2 separate regions of the Homo sapiens genome follow, and region 1 is linked to region 2. Evidence: promoter capture Hi-C in 16 types of primary human blood cells and fetal thymus (Javierre and others, 2016). All regions are on one chromosome and are shown on one strand. The core of a region is centred on a gene start or on the middle of the fragment in contact, and the rest is flanking DNA. Distances in the headings are between cores, read along the strand shown. Region 1 overlaps FERMT3 (FERM domain containing kindlin 3). Region 2 holds the start of TUT1 (terminal uridylyl transferase 1, U6 snRNA-specific).

Region 1 (4,460 bases), core at 106-2,605, 1.6 Mb before region 2:
GAGCAGGAGGGGGTCGGGTGGCGGCTGGGGCCGGCTCAGCATGTGGTAGCAGGCCTCAGTCTGGGCGCTGTCCGAGAAGTGAGCTGGCATCCCCCGGAACAGTGCAGGTGCCACGCCTGGAGTGCAGGTTGGGAGTCAACCAGGCCTGTCCCCCAGGGCTGGGACTCACGGGCCGGCCCCTGCCCCCAACCCCCCAGGCCCACCCCCACTTGCACTCACCCCCAGCCAAGACAACCTTGCTCAAGTCATAGAGCTCTTCCTCTGGCTCCTTCTCTTTCTTCTTCTTCTCCTTCTTCTCAGGAGCCCGGAGCAGGGACAGCTCCTCGGGGTGCCGGATGCCTGAGGGGAGCTAGGGTCTCAGCGGGGACTAGGTCCTGCTGCAGCCTCCCCACCTCACCCATGGGTGCTTGGGGCGGGTCACAGCCCTGCAGGCAGGGTGGCAACCCAGACAGCAAGGACAGCGTCAACAGAGCTGGGCCTGGAAACGGGGGAACCTGCCTCTTTGCATCACCCTCGTGGGCCAGGGGAATCAGCCGGGCAACTTACTGAGGAGGCGGCAGATGGCAGCCACAGCCTGGAAGAGGGGCTGGGAGAAGCTGGCACGGAGGCGCAGTGCGCGGCGGTTGGGCAACCGAAGGATGACGGGCCGGTGCTGGGGCCCAAAGAAGAGGCGTGCGTCGGCCAGGATCCCGTACTTGTCCAGTGTCCAGTGGGTCTGCAGCAGCCACTGCCTCTTCTGTTCCCACCAAATAGCATGGTCTGACCAGTCCTGCTTGCGATCTGTGGGGCACGGGGGCACATCTGGGTCCAACCTTCCTCCCTGGTGCCCCCAACACCCAGCACAACCCCAGGATTCAGAAGCCTGGGGCGACCACTCCCCTGCCCTGCCTAAGCCAAGAGTGGGGCAGCCTGGGCGGGCCTGGGGTCTACCCCATGGTAACAGCAGCAGGGCTCTCTGCAGGCAGCCCCTGATTTGGCCTTCTAGGCTTGGCTTCTATATCGCTTCCCAGGGGAGCTCTCCAACCCAGCATCTGAGTGCCCCAATCTTAGCGCCCCATCTCTTGCATTCCAGCCCACTGGGCTCCCTCCACATGACGCCCCCTCTGTCCTCCCATAATCCACGGTTTAACAGCCTCTGTCTTGCATTCTGGGGAGCTCCTGGAGGCAGAGACTACGTCTGTCTCACCGTTGTATGTCCTCAGGGCCTGGACCTGTGCCTGGCCTGGAGCAGTGAGCACTCAATATTTTTAGCTATTAGCTGTGTGACCTTGGACAAGCCACTTAACCTCACTGGGCCTCAGTTTCCCTGTAAGATACAATAACGATCTTACAAACTGGGACACGGAACAAGGCCTCCCATGTGGTAGCTGCAGGGTTTGCAGCAAACTTGTGCACGCACATGACGATCCATGAGTGAGCATTGAATTAGAGATGTGCGTCTGTCCCTTGTCAGCCAGCTGGGAACTGGAGTTACAGTAATGGAAGGCACAGGTCTCCCCGCCTCCTCCCTCCAGGAGCATGAACAGGTGGGAGAGAGCATAGGAAAAAGGCTGCCGGAAAGCTGCTCTGGGCACACAGCCCTTGAGAGTTTGCAAAGCCCTGTTTCCTGAGTTCCTCCCAGGTCCTCCCGGTGAGTTTTCTGATTCCCACTGCATCCCACCCACCTCAGCCAGCCCCCAACCCCACTGCTGCACATGCCGGGCATCACCACTGCTGCCAAACCAAGAGAAGCGCTCGTCCTCCGGCACTTCCCCTCCCAGGCTGGGCCCTTCCCTCCTGGGCACCCCAGTGGGACTCTGGCTGTGTGCCGCCGCATCCCCTTGTCTTGGCTCCTTGCTCTTCTCCTGTCCTCTCTGGCCCCTCTCCGGTCCCTCTCCTGACCGGCCCCTTACCTTGTCCTTTCCCCAGGTTCGGCCTGGGACCCTCTTCTCCTGCCTCGGCCAGGTCCCCTTACTGGGTCTCCCTATTCTGTGGTTTCAGTTGCCATTTTCTGCTGCCTCCCCATGCGTGGCCCTCGGCCCAGACCCTGCCCTGGGCCCCCAGCCAGAAACCCATGTGCTGCCAGCTGAGGGGCCTGTCCACCGGCTTCCTCCTTTCCAGAACCCTCTGTTCCTGTGGCCGAGTGGCTGACACTGGGACTGTAAGCACCATGACTCCTGGTCTCGGCTTTTGGAGCTCAGCTCAGACTCGCTGTGCACAGAGGTGCCCTCTCCTAGCCAGCTCCCCCTCCTCACCAGCTCCCTACACCACCTCTCAGGGCTGGGGGACACGGACTCGCGCCAAAGGCCCAGGCATCCTCCCTTTCTCTTCTAGCCACCACATGTAATCAATGCCAATCCCACCTCTAAAATCCACCCTCCTCTCCATCCTCCCTGCCCGGCCTTAGGAGGCCCTGGTGTCTCTAACCAGGACCACAGCCTCCTCAGGGGCCTGCCGCCACCAGCCTTTCGCCTTGCTGCTGACCTTAGCAGGACAGCCTCCTGCTGAGAACCCTTCGGTGGCCACCTTCCCCTCCAGAAGAAAGTCTAGACCCCTTCTGGAGGCCTTCGGGGCCATGCAGAGCTGGCCAGGCACCAGCCAGCCTCATTTCTGGTCACGCTCCCAGCATCCTCACCAGCCGAGAGCCCTAATTCACAGCCCTCCGAGTCCCAGCGCCACCACCTTGCTCCTCCCTGCTGAGGCCACCTCTCAGGACTTCTCCTGGGGTTATCCCCATCCTGGGCTCGGGGCAGCCCCCTCCTCTGGCTCCAGGCCCCCATGATAGCGCCCTCTGTGCGGCAGCCGGCACGCAGCCCCCATGGGTCAGTCTCACCCGCTGCTGCTCCAGGAGGCCAGGGACTGGCCCGGGGCGGCCAGGCTGAGCATCAGTAGACAGAGCTGATGTGCTTAGGAGTGACAGTATCCCCACCACAGGGAACACAGAGCTAAAGGAACTTGCCCTGGGGTGCCCAGCAGCGGGTAGAGCAGCGGGGTCTGTCTGACTCCAGGTTAAGGCCTCCTGCGTTACCCTCATGCCGTGCCCTGGGGCCACCCAGGTCTTCACCACCCTCTCTCTGTTCCTCACTTCTATTCTCACAGCTGCTCCGGGCCCTGCCCCTGGCAGCTCCCCTCACAGCCTCAGTCTTGTGGCCGGGCCGTTCTGGACCCTATCCTCTCCACAGTCGGACTGACCTCCTCCTGTGCTGCACATGGTGGCCTGGCGGGGTCTGAGGAAGCCTCCCCACCATCACCCACCCCCCACCCACTGGCAGCCCAGGCCCAGGCTCTTGGCCGGGACTGTGGTGGGCCTGTCTTCCGGCTCTGCCTATCGGGGTCTTCCTGCTGCTCTCTCAGGAAGGGGTAGCCCCCACCCCCGGCAGGGAAGGAAGATGAGGAGCCCCCGTGTCACTAGCCCCGTGGTCCTCCATGACTGATACCACAGCTGCTCTGCTGTAACTTCCTGTGGGGGCAGGGCCTTCCCACCCAGGCTGGGCCTGTCACCAACCTGCTCAAAGCTTCCGCCAAGGGGAGGGAGCGTGGGGGCAGGCCCCTGGGTCACCTAGACCCCCTCAGACCTCAGCAATGTGACTTCAGCCTCGGCCCAGACAAGACCACTCCTTCTGCCCCTATTGGTGGCTGAATGGAGGATTGTGGCTGCGTCTGATCCTTAGCAGACCAGCTGCAGCAGAAGGGAGGGAGGGAAGAGGGTGGGAGGGAGAGGAAGTTGGGGAAATGTCTTTTTTGGAACCAAATGATTAAGCTAATGCCTGAGTCACCGTGACACCATTATCGGGAGCTGAGCAGCAGGGATGGCCCGGAAGTGCCCAGAGACACCCGTGGCGGCCGCCCATGGTGCCGAGTTCAGCAAGCGGGCAGCGGACACTCACTGATCTGCTCCACAATCTTCAGGAGCACCCCGCCGATGTGCGACTCCCCAGTGACCCGCAGGGTGACCGACTCGGCCTCTGGGTCCTCCTCTCCCACAAACACCCGCAGCTCCCATGACGAGTCGATGTAGTCCCCGGAGGCTGTCTTCATCCCCGCCATGGCTGCGGCTGCTGCTACAGAGAGTGTGGAAGGAGGCAAGGTGGGCAGGCCCTGGTAGGCCTCCGGGTTTGGGCAGAAGAGCTCTGTGATGCCCTGGACACACCCAGAGGAAAGCCGCTCATGAAGGAGGGCGGGAGTGAGCACCCAGGCCAGCACGCCCGTGGTACCCTCAGACTCTCTCTCCAGCGCTGGCGCTTGAGCCGCGAGGGCCCTCAGAGACCATGTAGTCCAATCCGCTCCCATCCTACAGGCGGGCAGACTGAGGCCGGGTAAGAAGGGGCTCACTCAGGACCACCGTGCTCAATGCCAGCCCACAGCTCACTCCCAGACCCTCAGGGGCAGCTGCCCACTCTGGCCATGGCTTCGTACCCAGGCCAGGAAGTAGTTCCGATCCTGGCCCACAGCTCAGATGCCAACATCACAAACCAGCCAAA
Region 2 (6,534 bases), core at 1,062-3,561:
GATGCCCAGGGCACCCAAACCTCCCTTCCCTTTCGTGTCGAAGGGAGTGAGGAGTGAATTAAGGAAGAGAGCAAGTGAGTGTGTGTCCCTGGAGGGGTTGGGCGCCCTCTGGTGTTACCACCTCGAGACTTGTCTCATGCCTCCATGCTTGCCGATGGAGGACAGACTGCAGGAACTTGGCCCATGTGGGAACCTAGCCTGTTTTGGGGGGTAGGACCCACAGATGTCTTGGACAGTTTTGGGGGGAGGGTTTTTTAATTTTTTAAAAATTTTGCCTCCCTTTGTGAAAGGGGATGGGGAGGGGAAGAGTAAACAGATAACAGGTGGTGGTACCTGGTTGGGGGAGGGGGGCGTGCACTGCCATGTCTTTTTTTTTTTTTTTTTTTTTTTTTTTCCTAATTGGGGGTTTCTCTTTCTGTCCGGTGTCCGGACTTTCCTAATTGGAGTTTGAGGCCCCTAAGCTGGCATCAACCCCAGGCCACGCTCGCTCTTTCCTTCCCTCCCCTCCCCCTCTGCCTTTTGTACGCCAGTTCTCAGAAATAAAGATCTTTTGTCCGTTTTTTTAACCTCGGATTCTGTAATTGGTTCTTATAGTAACAAATAAAAAGCTGTTTTCTTCAGCTTCTCCTGGCTCAGCTGTTCTTTGCCATGGGTGTGTGTTGTGTGTGTGTTGGGGGTGTCTTTGAGAGGGAAAATAAAGGACAAAGGACAACAAAGGAGGTACAGATGGTTCTTGCCCTGGGAACAGCTTTATGAGATAGGCAGCCTGGACCCAGGCGGCTTGCTCCAGCTAGGCTTCTTGTGGGACCCAAACTGCTCCCCAGCTCCCAGTGGTGCTGGAGCTCAAGAACCATCTTGGCCCAGATTCATTCAAAGGAGTTGAGATGAGCTTTCTGGATGACTGGTGGCCTCCATAGGAAAGGGGAATGGGGGTGTTTCTTCCTCTGTTTCCCACCTCTTACTCCCCTCTCCCTTTTGTTTAAGGAATTCTGGAAGTTGCTAGCAGCCAGGGTAACATGTATACCCCCTTGGGGGTGGTGGTGGGGTTATAGGAGGATCCCCTCACCTAGCTGTGTGGTGTATTTGGCAGACGAGAATTCTACCACTGAACCACCCTAGCACCTCTGGGTGTATGTGTACAGCCTGCTGCTTCAGGATCCTCAAGGCCAGTCTCGATGATATCCCGATCCACTGTAGCACTGTTTCCTGCCTTAAAGGTTTGGGACACTGAGATTAGATGCCTGAGCTGGGCCCATTAGAAGGAACACCTTAGGATAGAGAACAAGAAGTTCAGCCTGCTGTGTGCTCCTTGGGCACTTCCTTTAGAGATGGGAAACGGCCTCAACAGTTGTGACTTGTTCAAGGTCAAAGACCTTGGTGTCTGCCTTAGGTCCACTGCTCTTTGCGCCATTCAAAGCTGTGGGCTGATAACCACAGCACAAGCTGCTGAGCCCATCTGATAGTTCTCTCCACCTCGTTATGGTCCCTGTCCCTAGGGCATCCCCAGCTCCCCGTAGTCCCTCCCTGTCCTGAGCCTACACCTCGGCGGCGTTGGGATGAACTGACAATTATACCAGGAGGGGGTTGACAGCATTCGCCCCCTCCAGTGTCTAAACTCAGTTACTGGCACTCGGTTTTGTCTTGTCGCACTGCTCTGAGGTGCGCCAGTAGCTCTGGCGCCTCCGGCGTACACCACGCAGCCCACTACTGCGGAAGGAATGGGCCTGGCTCCAGGACCTCGTGGAGTCCGGAAGGTGCCCGGTGGTGGCAGAGCTCCCCAACCAGGGCTAGAAGCCGTCGCAGAACACCCGTTTTGCGGGAGGACAGGGGGCGGAGGGAGGGAGTAACAGCCCTGAAAAGGTTGGAAGTCCAGGGACAGCCCTGGGCTCCGTGGGGCAAAGAATTGGAAGCCGCCGATCCTCCGCCTTTATTCGTCGGGTAAATAAGGGTCGAGGGTACAGACGCACGGGTGTCTACTGCGGGGTGAAGGAGCTGCCGCAAGATGCCACCCGGCGCCGGCCTTTGTGGCTGCTGTCATGAATATTCACGATGCTTTGGGCCAATCAACGTCTGAACAGCTTAAAGCACACCAATCGGCTTACCGCATGCAGATAAGCATCGTAACGCGCCGCTTTTCCTGAAACGGGCGGGGACTGGACAGCGGCTAGAAACGGAACCCAGAGTCGAAGGAGCTTGGTTTCCGGAGGAGTGTGTCCGCGCAATTGAACGACTTTATGTCACTTCCTATCGGATCGGCGGAAGTTGCTTCCGAGCGCGTTGAGCTTTGGCGAAGTGGGTTCCGGTGGTGGCAGAGGTGCTTGTGTTTTTGTCGGTACAGGAGAGTCGCTATGGCGGCGGTGGATTCGGATGTCGAATCGCTGCCGCGTGGGGGGTTCCGCTGCTGCCTCTGCCACGTTACTACAGCCAACCGTAAGCGGTGGCTAGTGAGGGACCCGGGGGTGGTTGCGGGCTTTCGTCTTTTGATCCTGGCGAAAGTTAGGGTTATAGGTAGTCAGTCGTTCTTGTCAAGTTGATTGGTAGGGTCTCTCACCTCCGTTTTTCTCTGCAAGTCCGAGGGGATTTGGAGAGTCGGGAAAGTTCCACCACATTACACTCCTCAGTATATGAAATCTCCACAACGCAAGTTTAATTGTTTTATTACTTCTTTAACCATCATCTATTGGACATATGCTCTGTGCCTGGTATTCTGCTGATCTTTAGGGTGGGGGAGGGGGGTTCAGAGATGAAGGAGCTCACCGTCTAGAGAATGAGAAAGTTTCAATGCTTTATAGATATGTTCGGAGAACTGTGGGACCACAGAGAATTAGTAACTAAATCAGAGAAGCCCTACAGAGGACCTACTCAAAGGAGGGGATGGATGAAATAGGTGTGGCATGAATGACTAGACCATAAGGTACCAGTGAGGAAGAGACAGAAGATGGGTTTGGAAAAATAGACAAGGTTCTTGTATGACACACAAGGGGTTCACTGTAACTTCAAATTCCACTTTTTTTTTTTTTTTGAGACAAGGTCTTGCTCTGTCACCCAGGCTGCAGTGCGGTGGTGTGATCTTGGCTCACTGCAGCCTCAACCTCCCGGGCTCAAACCATACCCCTGGCTAGCCTCCCAAGTAGTTGAGTCTACAGGTGTGCACCACCATACTTGGCTAATTTCTTTTTTCTTTTTTTTTTTTTTTTGAGACAGAGTCTCACTCTGTCACCCAGGCTGGAGTGCAGTGGCACGATCTTGGCTCACTGCAAGCTCCACCTCCTGGGTTCACCCCATTCTCCTGCCTCAGCCTCCCGTGTAGCCGGGACTACAGGCACCCGCCACCACGCCCGGCTAATTTTTTGTATTTTTTAGTAGAGACGAGGTTTCACCATGTTAGTCAGGATGGTCTCGATCTCCTGACCTCGTGACCCGCCCGCCTCGGCCTCCCAAAGTGCCGGGATTACAGGCCTGAGCCACCGCGCCCGGCCTACTTGGCAAATTTTTTAGTTTTTTGTAGAGATGGGTTTTCACCATGTTGCCTAGGCTGGTCTCCAATTCCTGGCCTCAAGCGATCTTCCCATCTTGGCCTCCCAAAGTGCTGGGATTACAGGCGTGAGCCAATGTGCCCAGCCCTACTTTTGAAGTCTGGAATCACAGTGTTCCCTAAACAGGGTTTACTTCCATTCTTCCTTTTCACTGTGAATGGCACTATCACTGTTCATCCAGTAAGCCAAGCCAGAAACCTAGGAGTCTTCTTTGGCCCCACATTTACTTTGGTGACATCAAGCAGCTAACTCAATAAAATAATAGCAACGGTTAGTTTTTCAACATTTACCGTGTACCAGACTCTCTCTGCCAAGTGATATATCTGAATAATACCTGTGTGTGAGGTGCTAGATACTGATATTTCCATTTTATATCTGAGGAAGTTGATGCACAGTGAGGCTTCATAACTTGACCAAGGTCTCACACAGGTTGACAGAGCTGGGATTTGAACTTGGGCAATGTAATTTCAGATCCTGCCTTTGACATCACTATATTATACCATGTCCAAAGATGATCCACAAAGTATTCCATGATCCAAATTTTTTTAGTTCTTGTGTAGATGACCTGGATAAGTTACCTGTTAATTTGTTTCCAACTCTACCTAGCACAAATAGGTGGTTTAAGAAATACTTTACTATCACACTGTTCTTTAAGTAAAAATAAACAAAATACTTGTAGTGTAGCCAGTTCTCCTGGGAACCCTCGTCTCTACTAAAAATACAAAAATTAGCCGGGTGTGGTGACACACGCCTGTAGTCCCACCTACTCACGAGGCTGAGGCAGGAGAATTTCTTGAACCTGGGAGGCAGACGTTGCAGTGAGTGGAGACTGCGCCACTGAACTCCAGCGGGGGCGACAGTGAGACTCTGTTTAAAAAAAATAAATTAAAAAAAAAAGAATGTACTATTTAGACAAATGTATAAGAGAGGAAGGTGAAAGGAGCCAGGACTTTGTTTATTCAAAGGTCACAGTTTCTGTGGCTTGGAAGGATCAGTAAGATTTAGGTATGCAGAGAGCAAAGGCAGACACGTCGAAGAGTGCTTTGCATGTTTTTGTCTCACACTTGTCTTTGCAGGACCCAGCCTTGATGCCCACTTGGGAGGCAGAAAGCACCGGCACCTGGTAGAACTACGAGCTGCGAGAAAGGCCCAGGGACTTCGAAGTGTGTTTGTCAGTGGCTTTCCCAGGGATGTGGATTCTGCTCAGCTCTCTGAGTACTTCCTAGCATTTGGACCTGTGGCCAGTGTTGTCATGGACAAGGACAAGGTAAAGTGAATGGCTCTCGGGTTAAAGAATGAATCAGTGCTGGGCGCGATGGCTCACGCCTGTAATCCCATCACTTTGGGAGGCTGAGGCAGGCGGATTACCTGAGGTTAGGAGTTTGAGACCAGCCTGGCCAACATGGTGAAACCCCATCTCTACTAAAAATAAAAAATTAGCTGGGTGTGATGGCGCATGCCTGTAGTCCCAGCTACTTGGGATGCTGAGGCAGGAGAATCGCTTGAACCCGGGAGGTGGAGGTTGCAGCAAGCTGAGATCGTGCCACTGTGCTCCAGCCTGGATTACAGAGCAAGACTCCGTCTTAAGAAAAAAAAGAATGAATCAGATGTGCTGTGTACCAAAGAGACAAGAGAGAGAAACCAACAGCCTCTTTGAGCTGGTTCCTAATGTGGCTTATTCTTGATGGACATCACAGTACTTGGGCTAGACCAGCTTTGGGAGCTTCTCACACCTCCCCCACCCCTTGAATTTTTATTTTTATTATTATATTTTTGAGTGCAGTGGCACAATCTCAGCTCACTGTGACGTCTACCTCCTGGGTTCCAGCAATTCTCACACCTTAGCCACCCAAGCAACTGAGATTACAGGCGCGTGCCCCCATGCCCAGCTAATTTTTGTATTTTTAGTAGAGACAGGGTTTCACCATGTTGGCCAGGCTGGTCTCGAACTCCTGACCTCAGGTGATCCGTGCACCTCAACCTCCCCAAATGCTGGGATTACGGGCGTGAGCCACTGCTCCCAGTCCCACCCTTTGGATTTTATCACTTCACCAGAGTTAGTCACTGGGGGATTTTTTTGTGTGTGTCATCTATTGATTCAGTGAATTCTTTGCCAAATATTTATTCACAGCTAACTTTGTACTAGGCACTATGCTTAGGGCTGCATTCTGAGTAGTGAATGGGGTAGATATGGTCCCTGCTCTCACAGAGCCTATAGTCTAGAGGAGAAAGTAAACAATTAAGTAATTATAGTGAAAGTTGGTGCTTAAAGAACAACATACCATTGGATCAACTCCACAAGAACCTGGTTGATAAACCAGTTAGCAGTTTATTAACTTACACTGAGGGTACTAAGGTTGTTTGGTTAGAACACCCTGTCCTTTGGAGAGTGTTAGATAAACAAGCTTGTGCTTTTTGTGTTGCTTCCCTGTAGGTTTTGGTCCCTTGAAAAAAGTTCACTGTTGAGGTGCTGTGTTCCTTGGTCATACTGTGGTTCTGAGGCTGTACTCTTGTTATGTAGGCATGGCTTAGGTGATCCAAAATATCCCTTTGCAGCCCAGGTTATCTTTTAGAATGGGGTGGAGCCTGTGTTTGTTAGGGATTGCATTCAGCAACCAAACTACAAATGGCTTAAACAATAGGAATTTAGTTTTTCTCATGTAACAAGAAGTCCAGACCTGGACAGTTCAGGGCTTTGCTGTTTTCCTGCTCTGCCATTATTGGTATGTGGCTCTTCATAGTTACGATACTGCTGCCCCATATCTTCAGAAAAGAAGAAGGGGCAGCTTGTAGGGCAGAGTATAAAAGGTTAGTGTCGGCCAGGTCCAGTGGCTCACGCCTGTAATCCCAGCACTTTGGTAGGCTGGGGCGGGTGGATCATGTGAGGTCGGGAGTTCGAGATCAGCCTGACCAACATGGAGAAACCCCGTCTCTACTAAAAATACAAAATTAGCGGGGCGTGGTGGCACATGCCTGTAATCCCAGCTACTCGGGAGGC

Evidence for each region. The method cuts DNA at HindIII sites, captures the fragments that hold promoters and counts their contacts. A CHiCAGO score of 5 or more calls a contact.
Region 1: a contact is called between a fragment that was not itself captured here and the fragment with the promoter of TUT1 in region 2, in 1 of 17 cell types (non-activated CD4 T cells). The highest score is 5.1, in non-activated CD4 T cells.

The regions. Positions count from the first base shown.
Region 1 is chr11:64,206,931-64,211,390 of GRCh38, reverse strand. FERMT3 (FERM domain containing kindlin 3) reads right to left here. Exons shown (of 15, transcript NM_031471.6): 2 at 3,867-4,040; 3 at 547-780; 4 at 220-339; 5 at 1-116. The coding sequence starts at 4,026. Among named protein-coding and RNA genes, the nearest start is that of FERMT3, 2.4 kb to the right of the region's middle. RefSeq lists enhancers at 2,822-2,901, 2,962-3,081, 4,022-4,101, 4,422-4,460. The HindIII fragment of the contact is 4,283 bases long and covers 1-3,496 here.
Region 2 is chr11:62,587,300-62,593,833 of GRCh38, reverse strand. It overlaps TUT1 (terminal uridylyl transferase 1, U6 snRNA-specific), which reads left to right and starts at 2,311. Exons shown (of 9, transcript NM_022830.3): 1 at 2,311-2,430; 2 at 4,613-4,803. The coding sequence starts at 2,349. It overlaps MTA2 (metastasis associated 1 family member 2), which reads left to right. Exons shown (of 18, transcript NM_004739.4): 18 at 1-620. RefSeq lists enhancers at 2,160-2,389, 1,806-2,501. The HindIII fragment of the contact is 7,198 bases long and covers 1-5,943 here.